2 separate regions of the Homo sapiens genome follow, and region 1 is linked to region 2. Evidence: promoter capture Hi-C in human tissues and cell types (Jung and others, 2019). All regions are on one chromosome and are shown on one strand. The core of a region is centred on a gene start or on the middle of the fragment in contact, and the rest is flanking DNA. Distances in the headings are between cores, read along the strand shown.

The links. Contacts are between HindIII fragments. The study calls those that stand out against the background at their distance.
Region 1: a fragment that was not itself captured here is called in contact with the fragment with the promoter of GRHL2 in region 2 in 2 of the 25 tissues and cell types used here (aorta and bladder).

The regions. Positions count from the first base shown.
Region 1 is chr8:101,561,030-101,567,896 of GRCh38, reverse strand. The region is part of intron 4 of GRHL2 (grainyhead like transcription factor 2); the gene reads right to left. It also overlaps the pseudogene LOC124901995. Among named protein-coding and RNA genes, the nearest start is that of GRHL2-DT, 72 kb to the right of the region's middle. The HindIII fragment of the contact is 3,497 bases long and covers 661-4,157 here.
Region 2 is chr8:101,487,562-101,493,770 of GRCh38, reverse strand. GRHL2 (grainyhead like transcription factor 2) reads right to left here and starts at 1,332. Exons shown (of 16, transcript NM_024915.4): 1 at 982-1,332. The coding sequence starts at 1,001. It overlaps GRHL2-DT (GRHL2 divergent transcript), which reads left to right and starts at 1,066. Exons shown (of 2, transcript NR_186782.1): 1 at 1,066-1,321. RefSeq lists an enhancer at 786-1,314. The HindIII fragment of the contact is 12,677 bases long and covers 1-5,235 here.

The DNA.
Region 1 (6,867 bases), core at 1,160-3,659, 73 kb before region 2:
TAAACATGGCAAGAATGAATTACCATCCATGCCATAGATTTCTGCAGCCTGAGGATAGGCTAACCTCCTAAAGCATATTGGACTTGTAAATTCTGTGGTTCTAATCCCCCAGATGGCATGAGAAGGTATGATACTACAAATCTTCAGACTCAGAAAGACTCAACTACATTCTGGCTGAAATACAGAATCCCACTTCAATGCATGAATGCATGAGGACAAGAACTGTGAAGAAATAAACATTTTTCACAGTTCCATGTTATAGTAGTGGTGACTACTGTAGTTACCATGTTACAAACATAGATATTACTTTTCATTAAGCTTAAAATTTTTTCTTCAATTCTGTTACATTATCTTTATAATTTTAAAAGAATTAAATGGATAGTGTACCTAGAAAACATCACCATCCTTTAGATGAGACCTGATTACATTGATGGGTTACATGGCTGTAAGTAAATTAGTATTAGGAATTAGAATCAAAATGCTCAGGTCATTCTGGCTACAGTTATCAAGTTTCCACAGTTGCTCGGAGACCTATTAATATAATTTGTAGGATGCCAAAAGGCAGTCAGACAGCCAACATCACTGTAGTTTACTGTGATTTGATACAGTGCATCTGTAAATTTGAACTCAGAAAAATGATAGTAAAGAAGGTATGCTAACATATACTTGATAGATTACTCTTAAAGGACCTTAGACATTAGGCAATAGTAAACATATTTAAATCTCAAATATTGGAATTCTGTTCTTTCTCTTGGGTTGCAAAGACAAGATATCTGGTAAGAATATGTCTCAAAAAGACAATGATTCTTTAACTGTAGGGAAATCATAAATTGCTAAACCATTTCTTGTCTTTGATTAGCCACAATTTTTTAGGTCCCATCATTTACCCATTCACTCTTTCAATAAATATTTATTGAACATTTACTTTATATCAGGCACTGTGCTCAGTGCTACAGACACAGTGGTGAACAAAAGGAGAATAGGTCCCTGCTCTCATGAAGCTTCTGGTAAAGTAGGAAAAAACGCTAATCAAATATTTTAAAAACTACAAACTGTGTGCAGGCATTCTGAAGAAGAGCAAAAGTTCTATATGAGCTCATCAAATTCACTGCTATGAGAAAGGGAAAATTGGCATCACTGGCAGTCAACCTTAATGTTCCTAACAGAGTGCAATGTTTCCAGAGAAACATGGATAAGGTTGTATGGGGGAGGATCATAAGTTAGACTTGGGATAAGTAAAAAAAATCAATCGGGCAGTTAGATATAATAAATATAATTATATTAATTATAATAATATATATAATAATATTATTATATTTATATTATTATAGTTATAACATAAATATTATTACATTATAATAAATATTAGTTCAGAAGAGAGGACCGGGCTGGAGAGTAAAATTGGAAGGTCTTTTGGACACAGATGATAACTGAAGCTGTGGACATGAAGCCAAGAGCATTTGCAAGAGGGAGGAGTGATCAACAGTGTCAAATGGTGCTGCAAAGTTAAATAACAGCTTTAACAGAACTGGGACATTCATAGACATTCTGTGCATGAGGTGAGTAAATGCCATGTTAATATAAATAATGAGTGATCTAGTCTTATCAACTTTGACTACATATAGATTTAAATCCTCCTAAGGTATAAAATGTGTATCCCAGAGAATTTCTAAAATTTTACTTGGTGCTAAAACACATTAACAAAGTGACAGAAATTTGGTGTTACCATAGCCACTGCATCATATGTTTAAGATAAACATAATAAAACTGTGTGCATTAATCCAAAGTGAGGCCATGTTCCAATGTAGTAGATGAATCAACATTTTTGAGATTTTGTCCTTTAAATGTGTGGAGGATAATGGACTACCAGCTGTCAATCAATTAAGTTGGATAGGGTTTAGATCCAGGATCACTTCCAGTTTCAGACTAGATGAATATAAAATCAATGGACTAATGATCATACATCTATCCAGATAATGACAAATAGTCATTACTTGCTTTCATTTCAAGATGCTCTGCAAACTATGTTAATTCTACAAATAACATGCCTGGAGTTGAGTTATGAAATACACAGTAGAGCTGTCCGATGTTCACTTATAAATAGTTCTTCTCAATTCCTGAGCACATGGGAGGACTAATGGGAGAATTAAACTTCTCGGCCCTCTTGCAGTTATGTTGATCAGGTGGCTAGTTCTAGCCAACAAAATGTGAGATGGTGCAGTTGCGCCACTTCCAGGTCAACTAGTCAATATGACTAAAGTCAGTAAAGTATGACTTTACAAGTCAGTATGCCATCTCCATGGCCTCCCTTCCTCTGCTGGGGAGACACTAGAAACCACACATAGAGATGATAATGTCACAAGATGCAGGGACCCTGGATTCCTGAGTCACTAATTGGAAGAGAACTGTACAGACATGCATCAGTGTTTTATTAGCAAGAAATAATATTTTATTGTATTAAATCACTGAGATCTTGATGTTGCTTTGTTCCTAAACCAGAAACTATTGTTAACTGACTTATAGAAAACTGTAGTACAGAATAAACAAATTCTTCCTTCCATTTTGATTTATTATGATTATATATCTATATGATTTTTGATAAAAATCCTTCCATCTTTTAATTTTTAAATGTTTCTTAAAATATTTTTGGTCTTAAATACCACTCCATTGTATATTTATCAACTATACTCTTTGCTTATTAGTGGCATGATCTTTGGTTTGTTTCTTAACCTCTCTGAACCTCTGTCTCTTCATCTGTAAAATGGAAAAAATAATGCACCTTCCTTGCAGGATGACAGTAAGGATAAGAAGTAAAATGAGTAAGCCATGGTGCCTGGCACAGAGTAGAACTCAATAAATGGCATCTAGCATTATTTCCCTTCACACATACAGACAGATTGTAAGCTTCTAGAAGGCAGAAACCAGTATGCATTTTGCCCTAAGCTTCCACATCACCACAGTGCCTAATACCCAGTATAAATCAACACATATTTGCCAAATGTTATTACAAAGAGGATGTGGAATAAAATATAGATCAAATTAGCTAAAATTCATCCATTAAAGTGGTTTTTTTTTTTTTTTTTTGGAGACAGGGCCTTGCTCTGTCACCCAAGTTGGAGTGCAGTGGCATGATCATAGCTTCCTGCAGCCTGAACTTCCTGGACTGAAGCAATCCTCCCGCCTCAGCCTCCCAAGCAGCTCGGACTACAGGTGCATGCCACCACACCTAGCTAATTTTTTTATTTTGTATTTTTGTAGAGACAGGGTCTCACTATGTTGCCCAGGCTAGTCTTGAACTCATGGGCTCAAATGATCCTCCCGCCTCTGCCTCCCAAAGTGCTGGGATTACAGGCACAAGCCACCACTCCCAGTCTAAAGCACTTTTTAATGCTACCACTGTCTTTTCAAAAATCCCAGCCTGAGTTAAAGCAAACTACTCCCTTCCCTGCTACCACTGTGCACACATGCACGTGCACATACACACAGAAGAATTGGTCTCAAATGGCAAAATAAATTTGATTATTCAACCCGGGTTCTAGATATTTTAATAGTTTGCCTAGAATAAGTGAGTTTAGACAAATTTTCCTTAATGAAATTTTCTTGGTGAAATTACTCTGAAATCACTTAATCTTATAACTAGTTGACAATGAAATAGCTAAAGATCATAGTAGGATATTCAATTTAATTTACACCAGGCTGAAATACAACATGCCATGTAAACACTGATTTCCAAGACAAGGACAGCAGCTCAACCAAAATCAGTGGGAATAGTCTTTATATTTCGTTTCTGGTAAGTTTCTTTACTTTCTCATCTACTTCAAAATAAAGCCCAAAATACAATAGCTTCCTTTCACAAGCCTCTTTATCTACAATACAAACAACAAACATAACTGATAACACATCCCCCAAATAGCATGATGATTCCGTTGACATTGGACCACATCCATACACTCTTCTGTGACTAATGGAATATTTCTACACTGTGTGAGAAAATACATCAGTGGCAATCTTTTGGTGAAAAAACATGTACCTCACATGGGATCATGGAGTGATAATTTCAGTTATTTTCTTCTACAGAAGCACCCCTCACTACTTAAGAGCAAATCAAATAATCAACAATACCAAAGACTCTACAAGATCCTTCATTCAGTTTAAAAACAAAAAAACAAAAAAAAACAAAAAAAAAATAAGTTTGCTAACTATTTTAAGCAATATGATGCAGGAAGCTAAGAAAGATAATTTTAAGACCATTTTTTAAATTTCAAGAGCATTGAAAGTTTGATTGTAAAGCTACCAGAACCCAAGAAATATGACAGCCTCTTAAGGACAAGGAATTTATCATATGTCACTTTCATCACTCCCTGATTCCACAGAATACAGCAGGCACTCAGAAATGACTGGTGCCAGGAGTGGCAGGGCTGCTAGTGCAACTTCTATGTCCTAGTATACAACAGTTGCTCTCTGCAACTTTGCAGAGAGCCAGTCCCTGCTCATCAACCTTTTGTACTCTTTGCTCACCTGAAAGATTAAAAAAAAAAAATCTGAGATGGACCAAGGACAGTCAAATGTTTTTAAAAAGATTTTGGTGAATCACTGTCTTAAGCAATGGAACTATTGAGAATTAGAAGGCCCCAGGCTTCTCTGAGTGTGTAGTCATATGGTTAAGGATTTAGGTCCTGAAGCCAGACAGCTTAGGTTGAGTCCTATCCCTCCCACTTACTGCTAAATAACCATGAGCATACTTATGCTCTCTATCCCTCAGTTTCCTCATTTAGAATATAGAGATGACAATAATAGTACCTACCACATAGGGCTTTTGTGAGGCTTATATATCCTTAGAATGATGCCCAGCACATAGTGAGTACCCATCAAATATTCATTATTTTCAAATATTATTACTTAAAGATGAAATCTCAAGCTCAGGCAGCTGCATTTTTCCCAATGGAAATTAAATAGGCAGCAGGCTAAAGATATTATCATGCTGCCACTACACTCACTTCTCTTTAGGAAACTGGAAAACCACACATTCTCTCCTTCTGCCATTGTCTTTTATTGGCCTAGGTGGGCTGAAAAGTAGAGAACCAATGACCCCCATCTTGAATGCAGAGGCAGTGCTCCTAAACAGTGAAGAAGCTGATCTGAGCTAATAAAAATACACATTACATATTCTACATCAAAAGTTGGAAAAGGTACCAACAATTATATCACAAATTGCTGTTTTACCAAGATCCCAAGGCAATTCAATGAATACAAGATCATCTTTTTAACAAATGGTGCCACAACGAAACCAGTATGGCTGGATATCAGTATGGAGAAAAGGGTCTCAATCCTTACCTCACACCATATATAAAAATTACATCACCTCTCAAGCTTGGTGTTTGGTTGGTGGGGACCCACACGGGTTCAATATGCATATTGAGAAGTGTTATATTTGTTCAGGGCCCATCTACCCTGGCCACGGCATGACGTTTGTCCACAATAATTGCAAGGTGTTCAGATTTTGCAAATCTAAATGTCATAAAAACTTTAAAAAGAAGCACAATCCTCCAAAGCTAGGTGAACCAAAGCATTCCTGAAAGCAGCTGGTAAAGGGCTTACGGCGTATAATTCATTTGAATTTGAAAAATGTAGAAATGAACCTATCGAATACCAGTGAGAGCTATGGAATAAAAGTATTGATTCAATGAAGAGAGTTGAAGAAATCAAACAGAAACGCCAAGCTAAATTTATAATGAACAGATCGAAGAAAAATAAAGAGCTACAAAAGTTCAGGATATCAAAGAAGTAAAGCAAAACATCCATCTTATCTGAGCCCCCCTTGCAGGCAAAGGGAAGTAGTTGGAAGAGAAAATGGTACAACAGTTACAAGAGGATGTGGACATGGAAGATGCTTCTTAAAAATCTCTGTAACCATTTCTTTTATGTACATTTGAAAATGCCCTTTGGAGACTTGGAACTGCTAAATTATTATTTTTTACATAAGGTCACTTAAATGAAAAGTGATTAAAATATATCTTTCCTACATTGCCATCTACAAAACATCAGATATTACAGATGTTAGATTGCATCTCAGTGTTAAATCTTTACTGATAGATGTACTTACATAAATCATGAAAATTCTACTTAAAACTATAGAAGTGAATTGTGGATGTAAAATGGTTATGCCATTTGGATAATGGCACTAGACAGCATTTGTACAATAACTAATGGCAAAAATTCATGGCTAGTGATGTATAAAATAAAATATTCTTTGCAGTAAAATGTTCCCTTTATTAATGTTATAGAAGGGGGATACAACAAGGAACTAACAATTTGTATGACAGTGTCAAATATTATTTTGATTTTAGTATTTCCTGCTTGGTTTATTTGCATCTTAGAAGAGCATAATGACATTGTTTGATGAAGCCTAATTATGCTGGACTGTTTTGACCTGGTTTAACCCTTCTGATAGGTAGTTGTGGATGTTGGGGATGAGAAATGAATAATCTTTGCCTGGAATGACACTATAGTCTAGAATTTCCACTTTGAAGAATGCTTAGTTCTAACTTGTGATTCCTGGTAGAACAAACTTTATTTTTCTAGCCTAGCAATGATCTAGAAGCAGAGGAATCCCAGTGCCTTTTAAAAGTTATTATGTGGTTTTCTTTTAAAAAGCTCCTGTTTTTGGAAAGTAGAATTTATAGGTACAACATCTGTTCATTATTTGCACATAAAACCATTTAAAAAGTAAAAAAAAAAAAATTACTTCGAAATGAATCAGAAACCTACATGAAAGACATGAAACTAATAAACATCTAAAGAAAAACAAAAAACAAACAAAAAAAGTTTGTGACATTGGGTTAGGGAAAGATTTCTTAAATGATATAA
Region 2 (6,209 bases), core at 83-2,582:
GACGGGAAGGACGCGAGCCCAGCGTTCCCGCCGCCCCGAGCCCTCGGCCTTGACGGCGAGAGCACCCCGAGAAGGCTCGGCGCGCCCCACGCAGTCCCGCCTGCCGCGTCCGAGGTGGCGGCCAACTGCGTGGAGGGCCGCGAGCTCGAGGGGCGTGCAGACGCCGTCGGGGGCGCGGGTGAATCGCTCAGTGGCAGGCGCCCCTTCGCGCCCCGCCGAGGCCCTAACTCGAGGCCTCACATGAGTTCCCCCAGTTCGCGAACCGTCCTTTCCCCCCGGGCACCTGAGGAAGGTGGCCAAACAATGCGGGGGCGGACCCGGGGGAGGGAGGCGGGGGAGGGGGGAGGAAGGCGGGATGTCGAGGGAGTGGGGGACGGCGCCGGCCGCCCCCGCGCCCCCCGGCCTCCCAGCGCCTCGCCTCCCATCGGGGCCACACGCGGGCGCGCACTCACGCCCACCCTCCTGCCCGGTGCGAGAAGATGGCCGTTTCTGCCTCATATAAAAGCTCTTTGTTGCGGTCACACAAAAGCGGCCAAGCCCCACTTTTCCAGTAGGCCCTTTGGACAAATCGAAGGAACTCAGCTGAACTTCCAAATGGCCCTAAACGCCAGATCGGTGGGAGCAGCTAAAACAGAGAGGGAAGAGCAGGCCTCCCGCGCCCATCTACCAAAACCTCTGGCAATATCCAAGTATTCATCCAGGAGCGGGAGCTGAGACCATTCCTAAGGGAAGAAGGAAAAGGAAAACCCACTTTTACTATCAAGGCCCAAAGGGGATATTAAATATTCACATTGTTGTAGGGTTTCTCCCCTTAATCAGGGTAGAAACATAATGCGGAAAAGTCTGGATCCACCAAAAAGAAAAAGAAAAAAGAAAGAAAAATACCAACAATAGCAACTTAAAAACAAAAACATAACAAACCAGTTGCCATCAGCCCAAAGTGGTAGTAGTAGCAGCAGCCGGCGCGTGTGATCCACTTACTTGTCCGACTCTTGTGACATGTTTGATCCAATGAACTTGCTCCGCTTTTCCTGGAGCCTCAGCCTCTGGTGAAACTGGACTTTCAAGTCTGTGCAGGTGAAGGTGTGTGAGAGCGCCCGAGATGGCAGAACAAGAGCTACAGGTAATTCTGCTTTTCCGTCCCCCCTCACCACTCTCGCTCGCTCGCCCGCTCGCGCCCTCACCTAGCCGGAAAGGTGGGATAAGGGGGGGCCCCTCACATGGGGCCCGAGCTCGGAGGCGGCCGGGCGGCGCGGAGTCCTCCTGGATCGTGGCAATGGGCAGACACAGAGCAGAAAGTGGCGGACTTGGGCGGCCACAGGTAACTTTCTCGCAAGGAGCTGAATTCTTTCACTAAAGGGTACAAGCCCGAGGGACGAGCTGCGCGATGATTGGCTGGGGAGCTCCCTCAGGTGAGCTGCCATTGGCAGAGGCGCGCTCAGGTAAGGCCCTTCTCCGAGTGCAGGTAACTCACTCCGAAGTTTACCCGAGTGGAGCGGCGGCATGCTTGCAGCTCGGCGGCAGCCTGTGAGAGCTGAGGGTCAGTTCTTCGAGTAGATCTCAAGCTGCGTTTTCCTCCTTCTCCAAAGCAGGGATGGGAAGGTGGAGGCTACTGGTTGAAGAGAAGAAAGGGGTTGGGGGAATGCAACACCTGCAAACACTAGGGATTGTGGGTCGAGCGGAAGAGCTAATGAGAGCCGAGCTCAGGTATCCCAAGTCAACCAGAATCAAATGCGCAGTACGCCACAAGGCATTTAATGCCCACAGTAACAGGGCTGTTTGACAGTGGCAGAAGAGGACGGGACTAAAGTTACTTTGTGCTGAGAGGGGGAAAGAAGCACAAAGTTTGGTCTGTTGCGTAATTGAATTTTTAACACTCTTATCCACAACAAACACTTTTTCGTGTCCTGCTGTGTAAAAGACATCAGATATATTACAGATTTTCAAACAGGTGAGCATCCTTTTACGAGCTGGGCAGGTGGGGAGTGGCGTGGTTTTGATGGAGTGAGGAGATTTGGTTGAATGAACGCTAAGATGGCCAGACGCACCTCTTCGATCTCAACTCTGCAGCCTGGGATTCCAGAGCTGCAAACAACCACTGAATTCGTTCTGTAAACCTGTTGTCATTTGACGTTTCCAGGCAGGCATCAACATTTACATTGTAATTCAATAGACGCTACTACTACAAAGGAGCTTTATTCTTCCAGCTTAATATGGTTGCTGCGGGAACACTGCAGGATGAAACTGACTTTTTTTGTGGTAATGTTTCTCCTGGTTGGGAACAACGCAAATTAGCAAAGGCGTAATTTATAACCGCTGCTACCAAAGAGTGAAGTATTTGTGGAAGTTCTGACTGGAATCTAGCTCGTACATATGGATTGTGGAAATAAAGGAGGACGTGGAAAGCTTGCCATATTTTATTTCAAGTTAATACTAAAGCTGCCAGACTTAATACAACTTTCTTTTAATCTTTATGGATCACATATTTTCTGAAAATTACATGATAAAACAAGGTTTGGTTTGTTCCATGTGTCCATTTTCAACAATAAATTTCAAAATTGTATTTTTAAAAAACAATATAAACACACACTTTAAAGAAATAATATATTTTAAGACAATGCAGGTACTATTTTAATATAATATTTTAAGATAATGCAATACCTATCATGTTCCTCTCCTTTTTAGAGGCAGCCATATTCTGCTTTTATCTGTCTCTTCTGTCATTTACCTCCCTATTTCTAAATAATTTGTACTGCCATCTCTTGATTTGCCAATAGATGTTGTGCTCTGACTACCTGTTGCTTCAGATTAGGATTTAGCTCTTTCATGCCAAGCAACTTCTCCTTCCAACACAGCACTTTCACAGTTTAGGAGCTAAGTAAGTGACTATGCCAATAGCAATGACAACACAGCCAATAGTGTACTATTCTTGTTTTCTTCCTTATAAAACCTTGTATCTATTTACTTAGTTTGTTATGCCCCATCCTGATATTTTTCTACAACTGATCTATCAAATGACTATCATGTTTATTTTCCAAATGATCAAACAATCAATTCCAATTTTGCCCTGAAAACAATTCCTCCAGAAATTCATTGTTCTACTGTTTCAGTGGAGATGAGTTGCTCTATGGATCCGCTTCTCAAGTGTCATCCTGGGACACTCTTTTTTTTTTTTTTTTTTTTTTTTTGACAGAGTCTCTCTCTGTTGCCCAGGCTAGTGTGCAACGGTGTGATCTCAGCTCACTACAACCTCTGCCTCCCGGGTTCAAGTGATTCTCCTGCCTCAGCCTCCCAAGTAGCTGGGATTACAGGCATGCACCACCAAGTCCAGCTAATTTTGTATTTTTAGTAGAGACGGGGTTTCTCCATGTTGGTCAGGCTGGTCTAGAACTCCCAACCTCAGGTGATCCACCTGCCTCAGCCTCCCAAAGTGCTGGGATTACAGGTGTGAGCCACCGTGCCCGGCCTGGGACACTCCTTAATCTGTAGTGTGAGAACCCCCATTTCTGTGTTTTGTGCCTTCTTTCTTGGTTTACTGCTTCATTTTCCATGGCACATGTTTTAGTAACAGCCCAAGAAAGGGTACAGAAGGTAAAAATTTGAGTTATTACATACTTGAATATGTCTTTATTCAACTTTTACTTTTACTAGAGTTTGACCAAGTGTAGAATTCTTACCAGAATTTCTTCATTCATAATTTTATAGAAATTGCTTTTCACTTATTTATTTTAATTTTTTAATTAAAAAAAATTTTTAGGCCATGCACAGTGGCTTGCACCTGTAATCCCAGCACTTTGGGAGGCCAAGGCAGGAGGATCACTTGAGTCCAGGAGTTCAAGATCAGCATGGGCAATGTAGCTAGACCCCATCTCTACAAAAAATACAAAAATTAACCAGGCATACTGGTGTGCACCTGTAGTCCCGGCTACTCAGGGGGCTGAGGAGAGGAGATTGCCTGACCCCAGGGAGGTCAAGGCTGCAGTGAGTCAAGATCATGACACTGCACTCCAGCCTGGGCTACAGAGCAAAACCTTGTCTCTAAAAAAATTAATTAATTAAATTTTTAAAAACAAGTTCTTACTCTGTCACACCACCTGGAGTGCAGTGACATGGTCATAGCTCTCTGCAGCCTCAAAATCCTGGACTCAAGTGATCCTCCTGACTCAACTTCCCAGGTAGCTGGGATTACAGGCAAAAATTGCTCTTTTATCTTCTAGCTTCCAGTGTTACTATTGAGAATGTCACTTAATTTTGCTGTGCTTCAGTTTCCTCATCTATAAAATGGAGATTATAATAGTAATTATCTCACTAATATGTCTGAACCACTTAGAACATTACCAGGCACTTATTAAATTCTCAATTATTATTCAATCTTATTATTTATTTTTTAAACTGGATTAATCTCAGAATGTTCTTTTTTTTTTTTTTTTTCCTGTTGCACATGTCTTCACCTTTTGTCCTATTTTGGAAGATATTTTCTTGCTTTACTTTCTACTGCAGTTGTTACCTCAACTATTTAAAGAGCTCATTTCATGCTGTCTGTTATAAAGAGAATTTAGTGATTATGTCACAGTCGCACTAGTTTTTTCTATCTTTTGAGAGTATTTACTTACTGTAGGGCTTTCTTTGCCTCCTGCCTTGTCTTGGCTTTCTCTAGCTTCCCTTCTCATGTATTTGTTTTCGTCCCATCACGTTAGAGGCTTTCATCAACTGTCTGCAAACCTTTTCCTCTCCTTTCATAAGTAGGAATGAGGTAATAGAAACCTCACCAGAAACTCTATATGTGGGTGAGAAAAATGTGCTTGCTCACTGGTGGGTTTGCTGTATGGTGATCAGATGAAAGCTCATTTTTTCATGGGAAGATACCTCAAATGTCAGAAGCTAGATGTCTTTTCTTTGGGGCTTGTCAGTTTCTCATGAGAAATATCTTATAATCTCTTGCCTGAGGAGGCATTCACTTGGCTGCCAGTGTTCTGGAAGTAGTTCAGGGGAAGAGGTCTGGATGAGTAACTGCTTAGGGTGCAATCTTTCACACTCTTTCCTTTCCGGCAGTTGCCTTATTCCTGCCCTTCTTTGTGCCTGCTGGACAAGCCTCTCTCCTCTTTCTCATGCTGACTGCGAGGAGTGGGACAGGGCACCTGAGACTCCAGCAACTCCAAGTGCCAACATTGACCTGGCCTCTTGCTTTTAGCTGCTCACCTCTCCCTCACCCTTCCGGGATCCTGGGGCCCCTCATCAGCATTTTCTTCTAGTGATCTCTGTCATCTCCAAGGCCCAGACCACTCTAGGGTTTTGTAGGGAATTGGGCTCTTTCTGTACTGACCACTATGGCCATATTAGAGTGTAGCTTTCACTGTTCTGTTAAACTAGTTTTCACTCCTCCATCGACCCTCTCTATTCTTCAGAATTGTGTTGAAATATAGCTTTTGCTGATGACTCCTCCTCTATCTTCTTTGCCCCTTTGGATTTATCCCTTCATGTTCTTTTACTATCCTTTTCAGGGGAGAATGAAGATAAATATGTGTGTTTAATCGTTTAATCTGAAGTCCGTTTCCAAAATTATACAAAAGATTTTACCAAACTGTCCCAAATTGTCTGTGCAAAGAAACCCAGTGTTTATGGTTAAACCATTCCTTTTGTTGGTTTATGATAGTCAAGAATCTTTTCTTCTTCTTTGGTATCTAATAACTCAACTTTGTTCAGATAGCTTGTTGTCCCCCTACTGGCTAACTACTGCTGTATTCATTGGTTAGATTAGCAAAGGAAAATGTTCGAAAGGACCATTTTAAATTGTCAACCATGAAATTACCTGTTACCCAAATATTTTGATTCCTTTGGCAGAAGAGTAGTATATAAATATGAAAGTTTCTGCCACGCTCACCATGAGACTCTACTACTCTGTCTCCAAATATCTTTATTCATAAACACTTAAGTACAGCAGTGGTTCCCAAAGTGTGGTCCCTGGATGGACTGTCAACATCAGATCCCCTGGGAAATTGTTAGGAATGCAGATTCACCAACTCACTCCAGACCCATGGAATCAGAAATTCAAAGAACCTGTGTTTCTAACAAGCCTATAGGTGGTTCTGATGCGTCTTAAAATTTGAGAAACACAGTACAGTATTCTGACAGCATAAAGTTGCACACCCTTAGCCATTGAAGACCATCATCCTAAATTATGCTGAACATGCAGTTTTGCAATAGACAGC